Regions from separate parts of the Homo sapiens genome. Here region 1 is linked to region 2. Evidence: promoter capture Hi-C in 16 types of primary human blood cells and fetal thymus (Javierre and others, 2016). All regions are on one chromosome and are shown on one strand. The core of a region is centred on a gene start or on the middle of the fragment in contact, and the rest is flanking DNA. Distances in the headings are between cores, read along the strand shown. Region 1 overlaps ADAMTS6 (ADAM metallopeptidase with thrombospondin type 1 motif 6). Region 2 holds the start of ADAMTS6 (ADAM metallopeptidase with thrombospondin type 1 motif 6).

The links. Contacts are between HindIII fragments. The CHiCAGO score rates a contact against its expected background, and 5 or more counts as called.
Region 1: a fragment that was not itself captured here is called in contact with the fragment with the promoter of ADAMTS6 in region 2 in 8 of 17 cell types (endothelial precursors, megakaryocytes, erythroblasts and 5 more); the score reaches 23.3 in endothelial precursors.

The regions. Positions count from the first base shown.
Region 1 is chr5:65,208,682-65,215,882 of GRCh38, forward strand. ADAMTS6 (ADAM metallopeptidase with thrombospondin type 1 motif 6) reads right to left here. Exons shown (of 25, transcript NM_197941.4): 19 at 6,643-6,806; 20 at 6,113-6,251. It also overlaps the pseudogene LOC100419140. Among named protein-coding and RNA genes, the nearest start is that of ADAMTS6, 270 kb to the right of the region's middle. The HindIII fragment of the contact is 1,570 bases long and covers 918-2,487 here.
Region 2 is chr5:65,477,486-65,484,683 of GRCh38, forward strand. ADAMTS6 (ADAM metallopeptidase with thrombospondin type 1 motif 6) reads right to left here and starts at 4,435. Exons shown (of 25, transcript NM_197941.4): 1 at 3,858-4,435. It overlaps LOC124900986, which reads right to left. Exons shown (of 2, transcript XM_047417970.1): 2 at 6,856-7,198. RefSeq lists enhancers at 4,188-4,547, 4,315-4,814, 4,588-4,637. The HindIII fragment of the contact is 619 bases long and covers 4,244-4,862 here.

The sequences.
Region 1 (7,201 bases), core at 453-2,952, 270 kb before region 2:
CAAATGAAATATAGTACCAGAAAATGTTTTAAACTTTACAATTTTATTATTGCATAGCTGAGCAGTAGAACCACCTGTCACCAAAAAGATTAGTGATACTATGGTTACAACTATAATATAGATTATTACCTAAAAGACTTGTCACTCTGTTTAGTGGGCATTTACTTTAGGAAATCTAAGTGTCTACCCCAGAGCCCCGAAGTACAGTTCCTGAGCCAGTGGCACCAGCAACACCTGGAAACTTAGAAATGTAAATTCTTAAAGCCTCCCCTAGACTACTGAATCAGAAATTGTTGGTAGAACATTGCAATCTGTGTCTTAACAAGCCCTTCAGGTAACTCTGATGTGTGCTTAAATTTGAGAACCACATATCTAGCCAAACATCGTAAAAAGAGAATATGTATGAATAAAATCAAAGGATGAATATACAGTATTTGTTATTTGAAACTTTAGAAGTCACAGTGCATAGGTATACTGGCATAAATTACCACTTTTAAAAATCTCCTACAGCTTTGTATTTTAAAACAATACAACTTTCCCTACCCAGACAAGATTCATTAATTAGCAACTGATTATAATCACTAATCCAATGGTAGCATATAAATTCGGGAGTCAGTAAATTATAAAGTATAAATATGTTTGGGTAAGGAATACAGAAACAAATTCTAGTAGCAATGGTTCTGGAAATAGCCATGTTTTTGGGCTTGGATTTCTCTCTGAGGAAGAGTTACAGCAGTATCTCAAAAATCACACATATACTGAAGACAACACCCCATAGCATCTCAATGTTCCTTATGAGGCAAAGGAAGTGTTTCATTACTGACTCAGAGAAAAGACCATTACTTGGACTGAATCACCAATGTTTCCTGTAGCATTAGATTTGTCACTGGATCTGCTAAGCAACAGAAAAAGTCTCAAGCTTCTTATCTTAAAAGATCTCATAAGAGAAAGCTATCATTATTGCTCCCAAACTCAATTAAAGCCCAAAGGTCTGGATATTAATAAAACATATGCAGGAAAATAACAAGTGAGAACACTGAAGGATCTTGTGAGACTGCCACCGAAAGTTCTTTGAGATCTTTCTTGTTTTCTCTTTGCCACTTAAAAGAATTTTGACAGCCTCAAGACACCCAGCACCTCCTTGGAGAGATGAACATGGAGTATCTCAGTTAAGAACTGACTTTATCCCTTTTTCCCACCTAGCACTGCTGGGCCTGCAGGTCTCTGTCAAGTGGCAGACAATAAATAAATAAAAAACACACACCCAAATACAGGTTGATAGCTCACATAACAAACAGAGATACCATTTGTCAGATTGCTTATGCCCATATGTAAGGGGATATGATAGTTTGCACAGCATACGCACATGAACTGCCAAAATATGGTGTGAAGATTGGCCTGACAAATGATGCTGCAGCGTACTATATTGGCCTGCTGCTGGCCCACAGGCTTTTCAATAGGTTTGGCATGGATAAGATCTATGAAGGCCGGCCGGGCGCGGTGGCTCACGCCTGTAATCCCAGCACTTTGGAAGGCCGAGACGGGCGGATCACGAGGTCAGGAGATCGAGACCATCCTGGCTAACACGGTGAAACCCCGTCTCTACTAAAAATACAAAAATTAGCCGGGCATGGTGGCGCGCGCCTGTAGTCCCAGCTACACGGGAGGCTGAGGCAGGAGAATGGCGTGAACCCGGGAGGCGGAGCTTGCAGTGAGTCGAGATCGCGCCACTGCACTCCAGCCTGGGCGACAGAGCGAAACTCCGTCTCAAAAAAAAAAAAAAAAAAAAGATCTATGAAGGCCAAGCGGAGTTGATTGGAGATGAATATAATGTGGAAAGCATTGATGTTCAACCAGGTGTCTTTATCTGCTATCTGGATGCAGGCCTTGCCAGAACTACCACTGGCAATAAAGTTTTTGGCACCCCAAAGGAAGCTATGGATGGAGGCTTGTCTATCCCTCACAGTACCAAACAATTCCCTGGTTATGATTCTGAAAGCAAATAATTTAATGTGGAAGTACACCAGAAGCACATCATGGGCCAGAATGTTTCAGATTACATGTGCTACTTAATGGAGGAAGATGAAGATGCTTACAAGAAACAGTTCTCTCAACACATAAAGAACAGTGTAACTCCAGACATGATGGGGAAGATGTATAAGAAAGCTCTTGCTGCCACAGGAGAGAATCCAGTCTATGAGAAGCCCAAGAAAGAAGTTAAAATGATGAGGTGGAACCATCCCAAAATGTCCCTTATAAAGACAATAGACTTAATGACAGCAAAAACAAAAACAAAAACAAAAAACCAACAAAAAAAGAACTGACTTTAGAATTCATCCTTAGTTTCTGAGTGAAAGGTAAGTAGAAATGACTTCTTGAAGGGTTTCTTAACGATAAAATGAAGTTTCATTAAGGAGAAGATGACTCTGGCTTTTTCTTGGGTCAAAGTTCCTAAACTCTAAAGGGACTTTACTTCCCTCAATCATAAGCTTCTTAAGAACCTGGGGTTAAAAGTGAGGGTTAAAAGTAAGCTTCTTAAGAACCTGGGGTTAAAAGTGTAAGAAGAGCAACTTCAACAATTGATTCCTGCACTCTATATCCTAGGAAATATTTTCCACCTATTCAAAGTAAGCAAGATGGCTGGGTGCAGTGGCTCACGCCTGTAATCCTAGCACTCTGGGAGGCTGACGCAGGTGGGTCACTTGAGGTCAGGAGTTCAAGACCAGCCTGGCCAACATGGTGAAACTCCGTCTCTACTAAAAATACAAAAATTAGCCAGGCGTGTTGGTGGGCGCCTGTAGTCTGAGCTACTTGGGAGGCTGAGGTGGAATAGTCACTTAAACCCGGGAGGCAGAGGTTGCAGTGAGCCGAGATCACACCACTGTGCTCCAGCCTGGGTGACAGGGTGAGACTCTGTCTCAAAACACAAAAAAACCCAAAACAAAACAAAAAATAAACAAAAAAAACAAAGTAAAAAAGAGAGGAGCTTGGTTTTACCTACCTATGCTAATTAAAATGATACTGTTTTTCCTTGGCAAAGCTTTGCCCCACTCTATAAGAAAAGTAGCAACTCTAAACTTTCATCTCCCACATTAGAAAGGACAAGCACAAATATATAATTGCCAAAATTAATTCCTTTTACTCATTCACTCATCTAGCATTTTGGGAGGCCACCATTGGCCTCATTAAGGTGCTCAATAAGGTGCACTTATTGGGCCCCTACTATGTTTCGGATATTGTTCTAGGGGCAAAATGAGTTTACAAAGATGCACAGACTTCAGTGATGAAGACACGGATTCCACGTGTCTAGAGTGCTGGGTTTGGTTTCTCTGTCAGCCAAGACCAGTGGTACACAAACTTGAGCGAGCAACAAAATCACCTGCAGGGCTTGTTGAAACGCAGATTAATGCGCCCCACTCGAAGAGTTTCTGTTCAGTAGGTCTGTAATGGGGTGCTCAAATTAGCATTTCTAACAAGTTTCTAAATGATGTTGATGCTGCTGGCGGGACCAGACTTTAAGAACCACTTACCGAAACAAATGGCAGCTCTTTACACCATGCCCTCTATATCCCTCATTTGAAGAAGGCAATAGCCTCAAGAATGCTCATAATCACCCACAACCAACCCTAATGTGAGTTCCCAGAACCACCTCCAGTATCTAAGACCAGTAGCTCCAGATCACAGAAAGAAGAATAAATAACAAGGAAGAGAAAGCTCTCCCTTCCAGAGGCTTTTCTCTCTCTTTTTTTTTTTTTTTTTTTTTTTACCCCCTACCACAAGAAATCACTTCTATTTCTCAATGCAAGTGTTATGGAAAAAAATAACACTCATTTAGACTTTTTACTTTCTGACTTCAACAAAATTATATTTTTTTCTTCCAAATTCAGTTCTCATGGCCTTTTTCCTCTTCTTCTTCTTTGCTTTTTTGTTGGATTATCTCCTTTCTGAACAAATAGAATCATAGGATTGAAGGAACATTAAGAATTCATTTAATCCTTTCTTGGTCTCAGACAAGACTGTATCTAAACCATCCCCAAATATAGCAATTTCAGTACAAAGATGAAGCGGCTCTAAGAATTTCCCATTCAACCTTCTGTCGTATGCTAATATGCATCCCCTTAGCTTTCTTTTCTCCAAGCTAATCCACTTTAACTTTAGACTATCCTTATTAGATTTCCTAAACTTCAAATTATTTAAATTATTCTTTAATAAGTTTATCCCACCTTGCCTCAGGGCCTGAATTATGTATGTATTGTTCTAGAAGACTTTTTGTTGGAATATGCAAAGGGAAAAGTTAATTTATAGAATAAAAAGAATTGAATTGGATAAAAGATAGATATATGTATAAATGCCACTAAAAATAATGCAATGGCATATACTTGATCAATTAGTTGCAAATATTTCTTTATTTAAAAATGGTAATGTCCTATGGCTTTAAAAACTTTACATTACAAATCACCAGCCATTTTACACATAAAATGGATGGGAACTAGAGATCTTTTAAAATATGTCACGAATTATACATAACCATGTTTCATGATACTTTACACAGTAGAGTACATTAATATATTATTATTCATCTTTTTTGTTTTTTTCATGTTGTATAGACTTTATATTGAAATTGGAGTTGTAGTTAATCATTGCTTTAATTCTGTATGAGACTAAAAATACTGAATTAGGCTGGGCGTGATGGCCCATGCCCATAATCCCAGCATTTTGGGAGACTGAGGCAGGAGGAATGCTTGAGGCCAGGAGTTCCAGACAAGCCTAGGCAACACAGTGAGATCCTGTCTTTACAAAAATTTTTAAAATTAGCCAGGTGTGGTGGCGTGCTCCCTAGCTACTCAGAAGGTTGAGGTGGGAGGATCACTTGAGCCCAGGAGGTTGAGGCTGCAGTGAGCCATGATCGTGTCACTGCACTCCAGCTTGGGCAACAGAGCAAAAACCTGTCTCAAAAAAAAAAAAGTAATAAGTAATAAAATAAAATAAAAATACTGAATAGATTATATGTTAATTATTTCTCTAAAAATAACCTCTCTGATTTAAGACTTGAAAATCAGAAGATGCAAATACAAGACAGGATGAAGTCTATATAAAAATCATATATTTCTGCATAGTTTAAAAAAGGAGTATAGGTAATGTATTGGATGATTTACTTTATTTTAATTTTTCCCAAAATAAATATCACTATTTAAAATTTAATCTTTGCTTCTGGAATGGTGAGGTGATCTAGTCCAGCCTAGGCCTGAAGGACAGGTTTGTTTCCTTGCCTGTTAGGATCAAGGTGTACGGTGGAGGCGATGCATTTAGTCTCCAGAGAGAAGGAAGATGCTGCTTGCACAGCACTTCTACTCACCAGTCCATGCAGCAGCAAGGGTGTTGGCTTTGAAGGAAGCCAACTGTCCTGCTCTCCCAGCCAGAGGTAAAGAATTGCATTGGTGGCCACTAGAGGGAGGAGGATTAGGAATAGAGTAAATTGTAGGGAAAAGGCACCCATGAAAAACGCACATGGGACAACCAACACATCACCAACCACCGCCTAGCAGCTACCTCTGAGGGACTGTAATGGGGTCAGTATACACCATTAACCCAGAACCCAGATACCAGTAATTATTGTAGCATCCCAGTATACAGCCCCTTAACTTTGATGGCAGGAGAAGGGAGTTTGAATAGGATTGTGGCAAACACACAGGCACACAAACACACACAACAAGCACACAGCCGTACATTCTCATCTCCCATTACAAGAAGTTGCATCTGTGATGTCTGATTCTTGCTCATTTTCTTTTTTAAAACTTTTGATGTTCTTTACCAAGAATGTGTTCACGAAAGGCAAACAGCCCACCTTCAAGATAGTCTTGGGAGAAGCACCAGCAGAGACACTCATTGTGCCAAGATGTATTTTACCAACAAATCTGCACAAATTACATGAGGTTGAAAACAAATGGAATATAATATAATTAAAGCAAAGTTTCTTTTGCTAAATTACAGCTTGAAGCAAACCTGCAAGAAATGTTTCCAATTAGCTTTTTTAACAAACACAAAGCATAGCTCAGAATGTGTTTTGTTCTCCATCTTGCCCTCTGGGTGGGCTGCCTAGTGGGCATCTTACCTCCAGCACAAGTAGCTGAGCATTCTGACCAAGGCTGATGATTCCATGTAAAGCCAACTTCATTATCTCCACTGCCAGTTCGAGTGATGGGAACATTGAACTTATACCTAATTCCCAAATTCTGTTCTTGAAGCAGAACCTGCCATTGAAAACAACTGGTGAAGACAATTAAAATACAATGAGCCTTCATTCAGATATTTATTATTCCTTTTGAAGAAGAAAATGTCAAAACAAGTCTTACAGGAAACTTAATATAAAACACATGCATTTATATCAAATTTTCTCCTCCCATTTTCATGGGTATTTTGGAGCCATTGCTTTCATCTGTCTTGTTTGGTTATAAAAATACTATTCAAGCAAGAGCACTATGGCCTTAACTCTGCACAGCTCTAACACCCTTGGGTAAATCATTTTATCTTTATTTACCTTAATTTCATCACCTGTAAAGCAGAGATAATAAAACCTGCCCCTTCCTACCTCACAAGGGGGAATTAAAAACAGAAGAAATACAATGGCAAAGACGCATTTACCATGACGATGAGATTTTCTGAGGTAGGACCTAGAGCTTCCAAGGATTCTGGTTCATCAGTTGGTCTCTTGTAATGAAAAGCTGTCCCAGCAACATCAAATTTCCTAGGCCAGTCAATAGTCCAGGCACCATTAATATAGTAATCATCTCCTTCAGATTTTAAAGCTAGAAAACAAATCACAATTCACCTAAAAATGTGAAATTTCATTTACCAAAGTGTCACTGATTAATTACTGCAATAAAGTATACAATGAATACCGATTTCCATTTAGAGATGTGACTCTTGACCATATTCTTAAGTACAAATTAAAATGGTATTTTTCATGTGAATGGTAAGAAGATATTACTTAAGTATTTATAATGTCACTAATAGAAAGCAACGAAAGGTTAACCTGGAGGAATAAACATGTGGAAGTAACAAGGAAAATTATGAGAAAAGGAATAACTAGGGATGAGACTTAACATGAGGGTGGGGAGCAGGCTTTCCTTTCCAAATACTGAAATAGTAATTAAATGGATATGGGGTGGGGACAACCTGTTGCACTTGGACACAGACTGAT
Region 2 (7,198 bases), core at 3,185-5,684:
TTGTTACAGTTTCATAACCTTCACTCTTACCTACTCTCCTGTAAATGCTCAAGTTAACTAAGCCAGTAGCATTGAGAAAAAAAAGTAATACCTATTTGGCCAGAAGTAGACTACTATATGATTTAAGGATTTGCAGTAAAAAAGGCATTGGTGCATAGTTGAAAAAGCAGGAGCTTTGAAGTTAAACAAACCAGTTATAGTCTTAGTTCCAACACTAGTTATAATAGCTGGCACATGAGTTTCTTTCTCCTTTATCACTCCCTTGCTCCCTCCCCACATTTTTTTTTTTTTTGGCCTCCAGTGCTCAGTGAAGAAACTTAACATTAAGTAAATGAGTCTAGATAGAATTCAACTAAAACTGGCCAGGCATGGTGGCTCATACCTGTAATCCCAGCACTTTGAGAGGCTGAGATGGGCAGATCACCTGAGGTCAGGAGTTTGAGACCAGCCTGGCCAACATTTCAAAATCTTGTCTCTACTAAAAATACAAAATTAGCCAGGCGTGGTGGTGCGCACCTGTAATCCCAGCTACTCAGGGGGCTGAGGCAAGAGAATCACCTGATCATGGGAGGTGGAGGCTGCAGTGAGCCAAGATCACGCCACTGCACTGCAGCCTGGGTGACAGAGCGAGGCTCCGTCTCAAAAAAAAAACCAAACAAACAAAAAAGGAATTTAACTAAAATCAACACAACTAACAAATCTAACTGCTCTTAGTCACCTACACAATAAAAGTGAATGAGTTAACCCACTTTCTGACACCTGGTGGGGAGGTTAATCTGGACACCATAAATATGTAGAGGCTGTGACTTTTCAGATATAGTTTCCAAAGTTCAGACTAACATTGAAATACCAAACAGTTGTCCAAAAATCACAATGCATTGACCTTTTAAATTGTATAGCAGAAACATCATTATGTTGTGGAAAGCACAAAGGCTTTGAGTCCTGGCCTGACCCCCAGTTACTTAACCTCTCTGCATCTGCTTTCTAATCTATAAAACCATGATATTGATGTCTATCTCACAAAGACTTGTTAAGAGATTAGATTACATATGACGTAAAGTGTCTCTGTACTTTAAGCTAAATAATATTAGCCCTCCTTCCTTCATTATCTAACATCACTTTTCAAAGCCCTTCCTTCAAAAATAGTTTCATGTTCCTCTTTCCCTCAAAAATGTGAAATAATAGATATGATGATGGAGTCAATCAACTAGTTATATTGTCTTTTACAGCAAGGAGTTAAGAACTTTGGTCATGATAATGATACTTATAACTACTTTAAATTTGAAAACAGAACCAAAACGTCCATTTCACTTTGATTTCACATATGCTTTTCTCCCTAACACAAATGCACCAGGCAGTAAAGTTAAGGGATCATTTACCTGCTTCCATGGATCAAAGCTACACTACCTAAGAAGAAAAATGATGAGACAACTTGCACTATAGTGATTTCCTCAGTAGTCTGCCCTGATTGGAGGGTATTACTTGTCTTTTTTCCTCTATCATCTTTACTTCCCACTCAAGTGATCGGGGAGTAGCCAAGGTAATAATTTCCTCTTGTGAACTATTATTATGAAGCTAAAGAATGTGTATAATGTTCTTCTCAACTTCTTTCATCCATCTTAACTCTGGTTATTTATTTAAGGCTGATTTGGTCTCCATGGAAGAAACAACAATACCATGCTCCTTTCAGGTGTTTAATTTTTACATATGAAAATTAACTTCTTTCATTTCCATTTATTCTCTCACATTTATTATCACCTACTGTATGCTAAGGACACAATTAGGCTCTAAGTATAAAGGTTTCTAGATCATTTATAAAATTTGTGAGATTGGTTTCCAAGGAAAGGTGAAACTAAACACATAAATTACCCAAAACATATCTATCAAGCAAATGAGCTAAAAGCAAAAATACAAACCATGATTTATAAAACTCAAGCCCTAAATTACATGTAGTCTCACACTTTTTTCCAGATAGCAAGTAAATACACATTTTCTGTATTATAAATTTTTTCTCTTGAGCTTAGCTTGATAATCAACCATGTTTTTTGGCAGAAGCAAGAGAGCTATCCACCTCTTCCCCTCTTTTTCTCCCCACTACCCCCAACACATATTCCAAATATGCTGTTAACTATCTCTTAATATGGTAACTCCCTTCATTCACTCACTAAAGTCACAAACTTGATAAAATTTGGCATAAAGACCCATCCTAGTTACTACTACTAGTGATTACTAAGGAAAGAAAGAGGAAGTGCTAAGAGTAGACAAGAGTAGGAATTAATCTTACAGGTATTGGGACCAGACATAAGGAGTATTACAGTATTTTCAGTCTTCAGGCTAGAAGTTTTTCTTCTTGGGAATCACAAAAATATTAAGACCACTACACAGACTTCATTTGCAGCTGTGGCAAATGAATGAATTTGATTTGTTTGAAATCAACGTATTTGCCTCTAAATGCTATTCTTCAAAAATTCAAAACACTAACGATCACATTTAAGCACAGAATTAACATAAACCAGACTGCAGTTACCACTTTGCTGCAACACAAGAAAACAATTATCTCCAAAATTAATTTTCTTAATTTCTTTCAACTACACCAATTTTGTGTTACGTTTCTTTTCCTGTCATGAATTCTGAAAACTGTCATCCCCACATCTAAACATTTCAGTCTAATCAACAGAAACTAAAAAGAAAGAAAAAAGAACAGAAAATTAGTCCACGACACTTGAACATAAAAAGAACATGTTGAAAATCACACTCAAGTGTCTCTTTTAAAGTTCCAAGCAATGGTTCAGTTTCCCTTTTTCTCTCTGCTCTGCACACCCTCACCTCCCCCCGCCCCCACCATTCCACTTCGCCCAGACAGAGGGTAACAGTCTGAGCTGCCCTGGTTGAGTTGATCCTAAAGTTAACATTCAGCAGCCCATTTCCAGACAGCAGCGCTAAATCTATTTGGATAAAACGCGTGTGACCCAGACAGTTGGCATCTGGCCCAAACGCGTTGCACCGGCAGCTCAAATAAAAACAAGAGTAAGAAACTCACTCTCTTGTTCCCTCTCAGTGCGCTTTCTCAATCTCTCGCTCACTTTTCCTCTAGTACAGGGAAAGAAAGCATCAAAGACAGGAATTGTAGCACATATTATCAGAAAGAGGCTTCCCAATACCCCATTCCTGCACTCTCACTCTCCCTCCTCAATCCCTGAACTTTGGTCCCATACACCATATATACAGACCTACCCCGATAAACAAGGCTCCGGAGGGTTATGAGTCTAGCACGTCCCAAGTGGCCAAAAGTAAATCAAAAACACACGTTTCCATCTCTTTGATTAGCCTATTAAGAGCTTAACATGTCCTAGAGCATCGGGGCTACAGCTAGCACATTAATGCTACCCTCTGAGCCCAGGCATAAAATATGCACTTGTCTGAAGACTTAACGACACTGACATGAAACTACAAAATGCATAAGACTTTTCTGTAAGAAAACTGGAAATCAATTTAAAACACACACATCATTATTACCTTCCGGATTACTATTTGGTGATCAGTTAAAAGATTACAATAATCATAATCAAGTCCACTTCACAAAACATGTATTGTATATTCATAAAATAAACGTATTTTTTTTGCATCATAAAATAACTGCAAGTCCCAGAATTCTACAACCCCCGACAAGTCTGGAGTTAAAAAGATATCTATTTGTAAAATGAGTTCAGTCAAGCTCACTCATTGCCATTAAAAAAAAAAAAAAAAACACACACACAGAAAAAAAGTTTTCTAAGCGTTATTCGGAAGACAAGCAAAGCACAAGTTGTTGGTTTAAAAAAAAAAAGCTCCATTGAATATTGTTAAGTCTTCCTTACCGTTTTCATCTTCAAATTCTGATAAAAAGTAAGTTTCAGACAATAGAGATTGCACTGGACGACTCACGTACTCCCTCTCCTCTCTAACTTTTTTTAATTTTTTTTATTTTTTTATTTTTTGCCCCCCTTTGCAAAGCCACACCAGCCAGTTATTCTGCAGCCAGAATAAAACCCTATGGTCTGGCTAACCCGGGCTTTAGAGAACTGACTTTCCGATTTGGCAGAATAAGAGATGCCTTCAATACATCTAGGCTATCACTCTGAGATGCTGCCTTTGCAAACCCCCTTTCTCTCCCTCCCCACCCCCCAAAAAAGGAAAGGAAAAGAAAGAAAAGACGGGAAAAAAGACTTATTGGGGGTGGAAGTGGTGCCCTCTCTTCCTGGAAAGCTTAGTGCCTTTGCTATGCAAATAACATGTGCAGAGCATCAAAAGGTATCAGGAGAAAAGAAGACAAGAGGAGCAGGAAGGGCAGCAAAGTTTTGTTGAAGTAGCCCTAGATCTCACTACCGGCCCCCAGCCAACTTGAATTGCAGCAGGAGAAAATTTTGGCAGCTTTTCCTCGGAGGCAGAGCACACTGACGTCAGTCTGCAGATGTGCCTGGGCTGCGTCGGGTGCGCATGTGTCCTGGGTCGTCACGTGGAGGGGGAGGGGAGGTAGAGGTACAATCGGGGTAACCAACTACCAGCCATTCAGAAGGGCTTAGACAATGTCAACTTTTCCACACTGTGAATGAGAGAAATTCTGGCCTCTCTAACCTCTCTGTCCTATCTCATTCCGCCTCTTTTCCTCCTCCTCCTCTAAACTCTCTTAGAAATTCTAGCCTGGTTTGCTATTAGTTGTTTCTTGGAAAAATGAAGGGGGAGGGAGAAGGATGAATGACTTTAGATGGACTAATGTCACTGTTAAGATCTCTGGTGTCATTCTCCGTGTAATTTTATTTTTAAAATCCACACAATCAAAATGTTAAAACTTGCACGCAAACAGTGCCTCTGAGGAAACTTAAAGCTTAGATTCGTGCAGCAGGCACAAGACTCAGTAGCTACAAGTGTACAAAATGCCTGTGTTTTATACATACTTCAGCAAGTAAGGTTAGCACCAAAAGGGAAAGTAAACTAAAGTAAACTAATACCAGCACATTTTCCATTTGATTATCGACTTCAGGTTATGTGGAGCTTTAAAAGAAGAAGAAGAAGAAAAAAAAAAAGTAGGGGAGGAGGGAGCGGGGGAAGGAAGAGAGAAGCTTGCATTATTTCCAGATGAGGGTGAGACTGGATGGTGTTTTAAAGTGCAACCGGGAAAAGCCACAAGTGGAGTGTATTTTTTTAAGTCAGTCCATTGAATGAAACTTCAATGACTGCCCAAATGAAAATAAATCCGAAGTAGGACCCCACCACCAAAAAAAAAAAGGAAGGGAAAAAAACAGGAACCCTGCTGCGATCTCAAGATAAACAAACAAAACCTCAAAACTGGTTCTTCAACCTTCCCAATCCCACCCTCCCTCCCCCCTACACACAAGCTGCCAGTCCAGACTTTAAGGATAAAATACCGCTACAATGTAGCACTTTCACTTTCATTTGCTGAGAATGAAAGCCGCTGGGGAGAAAATGCCCAGTGTTTTCCATGTCCTAAGCAAGCAAACAAAGTCTGGCACATACATCGGAAACAGGAAAAAATGTGAAAATAGCTCAGGACAAATGTTGCCTTTCAACGGTGTAATCTGCTGCATCATTTATCTGTCTCTACCATTGAGTGTAGAATAGGGAGCTGTTTAAGAGTTTCCGAGGTTGGGGGCAGGGGAAAATTGACGCCTTGAAATTCCAGCCCTTAGTTAATGCCAAGTCAATTTCCGATGGTGAGAACCAGAAAGGAGAACTGGACCGGAGGGAAGGGGGTAGGAAGGATGATCTTTCTGAATACCAGCTCTTAAATATCAAGCTTCTGCTAACATTATTGCCCATTTGATTTTTTTTTTTCTTCCTACGCCGGAGGTAGTAGGTGTAATTCTTCTGGTGAATCTATGAATAGTTGGCTAAAAGGAGGCATGAATCAGACTGAGAACGTCCAAGAATACAGTTATTTCAATTCTTCTTCAAGGGTTGAAAGTGGAAAGCATCTGTCCACAGAGTAAATAGTCCTCATCCTGACCTTAATCAGTAGTATCTGGCTAAAAGCCATTTAAAATGTAGAAATCTGTTCAATAGTGGGCATTGAGTTTTAAATAAAGATGATTCATATGTATGTATGTATGTGTGCGTATTTGTATGTGTATATATATGTGTGTACATATATGTGAAATACATGAGGTAGCAAAATATAGCAATAATTGTAAACACCAAAAATAAGAAAAGTAGGCATCAAATGACTATTTAAATAGTGTTGAACCTTAACCTTCCTTAATTTTTCAAGTACTGGCAGTAAATAGGGACAGCCAGCACACACACAAAAAATAAAGGTATGAGCAGTAAACATCTATATAAGCTCTGAAAAGATTTTACCCTCAACTAAGATAAACTGCCCTACAAAGTAGCAGCTTGTAGAGGAGCTTACTTAGTGGGAGTGGACTTTGGCTAATTACTTATTCAAAGAGTGCCATCCTGTGTCTAAACAGAGTAATGAAATTTTTCCAACAGATTCTGTCTCCAAGTTGATTGGGTCAAGAATACTGTGAATAATTGGTGAAAATTGATTAGGGTGGGAAATGGCGAACTGTCAATTTAACTTTATATATGTGTATATATATGTGTTTGTGTAAATGTTTTAACTGCATTGCAGAAAATTTCAAACATATACAAAAGTAAAAAAAAAAACAGTATAATGAACACTCATGTAGCCATCATCCAGTTTCAAGTGTCCAAGTGTGACCAACTTTGTTTCATCTATCATTTCATCAGATATCGTTTCATTATTTCCCTGTATTTCTAAAAGTACTAAAAAAATATACACCACTATTATTCTTAAAACATTAATAACTCATGTCATCAAATATTGTACTCAGATTTCCCAATTGCAAAAAGGGCTTTAAAAAATGCCTTTTTATTAGAATCAAGATCCATACATTGCAATGGCTCCATCTTTTCTTAATAAACTTTTAATTGAAAATATTCATGCAGAAAAATGTATAATTACATAGTTTGATGACAAGTGTCCAGTCTAATGAATTTTCACAAGTCAACTGGCCCATGTAACCGCCATTCTCTTGTCTCTTTTTAAAATTTTTATTATCTATTTACTTATTTAAATTGACTAATAAAAAATACATATATTTTAGCTGGAACTACAGGCATGAACCACCATCCCCAGCTAAGTTTTTATTTTTGTAGAGATAGGGTCTCCCTGTTG